Regions from separate parts of the Homo sapiens genome. Here region 1 is linked to region 2. Evidence: promoter capture Hi-C in human tissues and cell types (Jung and others, 2019). All regions are on one chromosome and are shown on one strand. Each heading gives the region's core, a stretch centred on a gene start or on the middle of the fragment in contact. The rest is flanking DNA. Distances are from core to core; before and after follow the strand shown. Region 1 overlaps APCDD1L (APC down-regulated 1 like). Region 2 holds the start of APCDD1L (APC down-regulated 1 like).

The links. Contacts are between HindIII fragments. The study calls those that stand out against the background at their distance.
Region 1: a fragment that was not itself captured here is called in contact with the fragment with the promoter of APCDD1L in region 2 in 1 of the 25 tissues and cell types used here (ovary).

Annotation. Positions count from the first base shown.
Region 1 is chr20:58,473,735-58,476,641 of GRCh38, forward strand. All of the region lies in intron 1 of APCDD1L (APC down-regulated 1 like), which reads right to left. Among named protein-coding and RNA genes, the nearest start is that of APCDD1L-DT, 40 kb to the right of the region's middle. The HindIII fragment of the contact is 5,723 bases long and covers 1-2,907 here.
Region 2 is chr20:58,513,522-58,516,852 of GRCh38, forward strand. APCDD1L (APC down-regulated 1 like) reads right to left here and starts at 1,878. Exons shown (of 4, transcript NM_153360.3): 1 at 1,138-1,878. The coding sequence starts at 1,186. APCDD1L-DT (APCDD1L divergent transcript) reads left to right here and starts at 1,858. Exons shown (of 7, transcript NR_034147.1): 1 at 1,858-2,219. RefSeq lists an enhancer at 481-1,479. The HindIII fragment of the contact is 21,415 bases long and covers 1-3,331 here.

The sequences.
Region 1 (2,907 bases), core at 359-2,858, 40 kb before region 2:
TGACTTTTATCAACCATGGATTTTTAATTAACAGTGGTGTCCACTTACTGTCATTCATTATTTACTGTTTACCCACTAATTAAAAATTATGCTGTTTTTGCATTCATAAGAGCAGGGACATTTGAAATTAGATAGCATTGTTCAAATTACCTGCAGAATTAAATCTAGAGTTCCCAATTGCTCAGACCAGGCTACCGGAGCTTAAAATATGACCTGCTTGAGGCCGATGTGTTATCCTGAATCAGAGCACCAGAAACAGGCCTCATGAACAAATACCATATGGACCTGCCTGGGGCCTTCCGGGGAAAGGACACTCACTGAGCACACCCAGAAGTGTGGGCACTTGGCTAAGATTGTCTTGAGATCATCAAATGGTGCCCAGCGTCTCCTGAGCACACATTCTGGGAGGCCCAAGGCCAGGTGCTTCATCTGCATCATGACCTTGAGTCCTCACAGCGGCAGCGTGTCAGTACCTTGGCAGAGCCCAAAGGATTGACAGGTATAATCGACACAACCACCCGTGACATGGGTTCTGTCAATGCACCCATTTTGCTGATGAGGAAACTGTGGTTCAGAGGGGTGGAGGGACTTGGCCATTGCCACTCCTCCACAGACAGATGCTTCTTAGCTAAATAAAACACAACAACACACCTAGTAAAATACACCTAACATAAAAGGTACCATCTTGGCTGGGCACGGTGGCTCACACCTGTAATCCCAGCACTTTGGGAGGCCGAGGTGGGCGGATCACCTGAGGTCAGGAGCTTGTGACCAGCCTGGCCAACATGGTGAAACCCTGTTTATACTAAAAGTACAAAAACTAGCTGGGCATGGTGGCGCGCACCTGTAATCCCAGCTATTCGGGAGGCTGAGGCAGAAGAATCGCTTGAACCCAGGAGGCAGAGGTTGCAGTGGGCCAAGATCATGTCATTGCACTCCAGACTGGGTGACAAGAGTGAGACTCAGTCTCAAACAAAACAAAACAAAACAAAACAAAAAATAACAGGCACCGTTTTAACCATTTTAAAGTGAACAATTTGGTGGCATTAGGACATTCACAATACCGTGCAAACACCAACACGATCTCATTCCAGAATGTTGTCATCACCTCAAAAGGGGACCCTGTGCCCATCAGCAGTCACTCCCGCTCCCCTCTCCTCTTAGATCTCGGCAACAATGACTCCGCTTTCTGTCTCTGTGGATTTGCCTATTCTGGATATTTCATAAAGATGGAATCCCACACTCTGTGCCCTTCTCTTACCTCCCTTCCCCAGCAATTCTCCTAGATGGGTGTGGTTATTCCAGTTTGCAGATGAACAGTGGAGGCCTAGAGAGGCTTCACTCCTGGGGCCACAATTTATGTTTTCTTCAAAGATCATGAAAAACGCAGGTATGGATCAAAGAGAGAAGAGGGTGGAGAAAAGATGTGAGTTTTGTAGTCAGAGCAGAGGGAGAAATATCAGCTTTTCAGGTACCTTTCTTCTGGGGGTAAAAAGCAAAAGAAAAGTACTTTTTTCTCCTGTAATCTGCTTGTTCTGAGGTTCTCGAAGCAAGGCACGAACGAACACAGGGTGGGGTGCGAGGTGATTTCAGGCGCGAAGCGAGCACTTCGTATTCCAACAGTCACGCGTCGGTTTTAGAGGGTGTTAAAAGTGGCGGTAGTTATCATAACAGCCTTGTACTTGCATGGCCCGTTTTTCTGAGGACTGAGTTTTAAAAGGTGATTGATCTGAACTTGATATTAAAATATTTGGTATTTTAATTATTTTCTTTTAATATTTTAATAAAATCATATTTTATAAGGAGATGTACAAGGGACTCGTGGGTGTGGTAAATGGCCTGAGGGTGGTGCACGGAAGACGGAGGGAGGAGCAGCTCAAGGTGAACTCGTCACCTCACCTGAGGCACGCGAAAGGAGAGCATCTGGGCATCTCAGGGCTGCCACGACAAAGACCACACGCTGAGTGGCTGAAGCAACAGGAGTCGATCCTTTCCCAGTCTGGAGTCTGCAAGTCTGAAGTTTGAAATCAAGGTGTGGGTAGGGCCTCTCCCAGCACCTGGTGGCTCCAGGTGTCCCTTGGCTTGGGGCTGCATCACGCTGGTCTCTACCCCCATCTTCCCATGGCCTTCATCCCTACTTGTGTGTTTCCTCTGTCTGCACCTGTGTCCAAATCTCCCTCTCCTTTCTTTTATAAAGGCACCAATCCCTGGATTAGAGCCCACCCTAATCCTAATCCAGTGTGACTTCATCCTAACTTGATTACATCTGCAAAGACCCTATATCCAAATAAGGTCCTATTCCCAGGTACTGGGGGTTAGGACTCGAACATATCTTTTTTGGGGGGTTACATTCAACCCACAGCAGATAACAAGGGCCATCCAAAATTGAGGTCCCCCAGGTGACCCAACTATCATTCATTCATTCATTTCTTCTCCCCAACACAAACACTTATTTTTATTTATTTATTTATTTTGAGACGGAGTCTTGCTCTGTCGCCCAGGCTGGAGTGCAGTGGTGCAATCTCGGCTCACTACAACCTCTGCCTCCCAGGTTCAAGCAATTCTCCTGCCTCAGCCTCCTGAGTAGCTGGGACTACAGGCGCATGCCACCATGCCCTGCTAATTTTTGTATTTTTAGTAGAGACAGGGTTTCACCATGTTAGCCAGGATGATCTTGATCTCCTGACCTCGTGATCCACCCACCTTGGCTTCCCAAAGTTCTGGGATTACAGGCGTGAGCCACTGCGCCCTGCCCCAAATACTTATTGAATGCCTGTTGTATGCCTGGAAATGAAATGGACTCTGGGTCTATATGGCTGCACATGATGGTCAGAATTCCTGTTCTCCTGGAGAGACTGACATTAATCAAATAGACTCACATCAGAGTAGAACTTCAAACCATCCCAA
Region 2 (3,331 bases), core at 628-3,127:
TTGGGGGCTGGGAAGAAAAGACTGTGATTGAAGAGCTCCTCGAGGTGACTTAGACTTTGCTCCTTGCCTATACATGGAGCAGAGCGTGCTCTGTGGGACCGCGCAGCCCCTCTTCACCCCGGGGTTCTCGGCTGCCATTCCCTGAACATGAGCTCAGTGCCAGGCAGCAAGTGGAGTGATCCTCCTGCACGTGCTCTCGTAATCTTCACAATCATCCCAGACGGAGGAGGGGATTTTGTGAGCCCATTTGACAGGAAAGAAAGTCAAGGCTGAGAGAGCCGATGGCCATGCTTACCCAAAGCCAGACGGGTTGATATGATGTTGATCTGGGCTTCCCAGCCAGGTGGTCTAACTCCAGGGCCAGAATTCTCAGCCATTCATAATGTGAGGGTGCTTGGGGATGAGCCCCCAGCTGGGCACACTTCAACTGTGGTTACTGTCATTTTTGTCAGTGGTGACTGGGCCCCTGTGATGGCACACTCCAGTCAGCTGGCCTTTGTACAGTTTTGTCTACCCTACTCCCCACCCCCACGAAGAGCCACCAGGGAACCCCTTAGTCCTGGAGAAGGCATTGACTACTCTACCAGGGGTTCCTGAAGCCCCTTGGTCCCCTTTGTCAGGCCTGCTGGGCACAACTCGAGCCTGGGGTCACTGCGCGCTCCCTAGCTTCTCCCCGAGTCCTGCTGCAGGAAGAAGCCCCGACCCCGCACAGGTCAGGATTCCGTGGGCAAAAACAACCCCAGTAACCTTGGTCTGAATAGCCGGGCTTGTCCCGCACCATGGGGGTCTCAGTGGGCCTGGGATCCTCCTGCATCTTCTTGGAGGCCCCGGTCCCACTGGGCCCGGCACAAAGGGCAGCTCTGGGTACCTACAGGCCAGGCCCCGACTGGCGCAGAGAGTGCAGCGGCTCTCATATTGCGAGGTGACGCGACTCCCTCCCGCAGGCCCCAGGAAGCTCCTGGAGGCGCGCAGGTGCCGGCCAGGTGAGACTGGAGAAAGGCGCGCAGGGCGCAGCATAGCAGCCGCGTGGGCCGACCCAGGGCCGTAGTCCCCAAGGGCCCTTAGGGGACATTAGACGGCGAGCTCCCTCCCTTCCGAGCTCAGCCAGTTTGCCGGGTGGGGGAGGGTGGCACCTACCTCCCAAAAGCACCAGGACGCAAGCGTAGGGGAGCATGGCTGCGGGCATCCCGTCGGGGCTGGCAGGACCGCCCGCCGGGCGCTGCCACGGTGCGCAAGGGGAGGCGCGGGCGCAGGGCTCTCGGACGGCTGCGGGCGCCGGCGGCCAGGCTGGAGTCCTGCGAAGAAGTTGCGAGGGTCCTGCGCCCCCCTCGGCGCTCACACGCGCTCAGCCTTCCCGGCTGTTGATAGTTGTAAGCGGAGCTGCGCACTCATAGGTCCAACTTGCCAGAAGAGGTGGAGACAGCCCCCGGCGAGGCGCGCACACCCGCGCAGCGCGCACAGCCCCCTGGTGCAGCTCCTGCCATTCAGACCCCCAGCCCTCCCCCAGATGTCCGTCCCCTGGCCGTCGCCTTCCCCAAAGTCTTCGCAGTGGGCAAGGAGGCCTCCCCCAAGCTCTGGTCCCGGCCAAGGCAGAGCGATGCGCTCCTTGCGTCAAAGCGCACCCCTAGCCAGGCCGTTCCCTGGAAGGGCAAGCGGGGCGGGGAGTTCCTCTAAGCCCCGCCAGTCCTGGGACCCCTGAAGTTTCTATTCAGGTCTTCCAGCTACTCCTGGAAAAGTCGCGTCAACTTGGATCCCAGCAAACCCAGAAGCGCAGTGAAAGTGGCCAACCCGGTCGCCTAGAAGCCAGCCCCGGCCTCTGTCTGTAAATGAGGCCGTCACCCGCTCCCCACCACACCCAAACGCATCTAGGCAAAGTGTGGACCCGACCAGGCGGGTTTTCCTCCTTCTCGCAACTCCTCCTCCTGCCCCCCTCCCTCCCAAATCTCATCTGAGTGAGTCAGCTGAGGGTGGCAGCTCAGAAGCGAGGCAGCCGTGAGGCGGAGGACAGGCTGGGGGATCCCAAAGGGTGCGCTCCAGCCCCCAACCCAGGCACTGGGACTCTGGTGGCACCCTGGGTGGCAGGCAAGCCTTGAAATCAAGTGCACGAGCCTTGGAAAGGAGGACCGGGAGAGTTATGGCATTTATGAATGAAGAAGAGAAAGAGAATCACTCGGATGGGAAAAGTTAACTGGATTGTTCCCACCTGCATGGATCACCGGGTAACTGCAGTGGGACCGAGGGGGCGAGGCTGCGGGCTGGGGATGTGCGGGTTTCCTTGTGTTGCCACGAACCCAGAGAGGGAGAGGAAGAAGATGGAAAGAAAAAGGAAAAAGGGAAAGAAAGTAAGAGGGGAGAGAGGGGAAAACTGAGGATGAAGAGAGACAGAGAAGAGAGACCTGAGAGAGGGAGAGAAAGAAAGAGACAGAAAGAGAAATGAAAGTGAGGAAAGGGGAAACAGGCAGAGAAAGAGAGAGAAAGGGGAGGAAAGAGAAAGGGAAAAGAAAGGAGGGAGTGAAATCAACAGAAAAAAGAGAACCAGGAAGGAGGAGGGAGGGGGAGAGAGAAGAGAGAAGAGAGAGAAGAGAGAACAAGAGAGAAGAGAGAAGAAGAGAGAAGACAGAGATGCGGTCTCCCTGGGGAAAGGTTTGGAGAACTGGGCCAGGCCTGTTTCCCGGGACTCACGAGTGAGCAGTCCACCTGCCCCTCTGAAGCATTTTATAGACTCATTTGTCCCACTTTTGTGGGCTGATCATCCCACAGGGGAACAGGGGACACCACCTCACCTTTTGATTTCTTACCAGAAACTTGGGCGAGGCTTCCAGGAGCCACAAGAGCCCTTCAATCCACCCAGGGACCCCCGATGTGGGCCCACCAGCCATCCTTAGCTTTCCTCCTCTCCAGAGGCAACAGGGAATAGGAAAAAGTCCAGAGCAAGGCCACACCATGATCTTAACGCAAATGGAAATGTGAGGAAAACGATCAATTTGCTTCCTGAAAATGACATTTTTTTTTTCTGGTTTCTATGAGACTCGAGGTGGCCTTGCTGAAACTGAAATCGGTATGAGCTTTCCCTGGCAGACAATGGCCATTGTCACATATTAAATTCTCATGAAAGGGATAACTTTGTGGGCAAGAGGAGAGTTGTGCAGGGTGATTATTTATACTTGCATAATTGTGATTATTTGTGGCAATTATGGGTCTTTCAATGTACAAAATTTACAATTATGGGTAGTTTAAAAACTACATGCTAAGGCCGGGTGCCGTGGCACACACCTGTAATCCCAGCTCTTTGGGAGAGCCAGACGGGTGGGTCACCTGAGGTCAGGAGTTT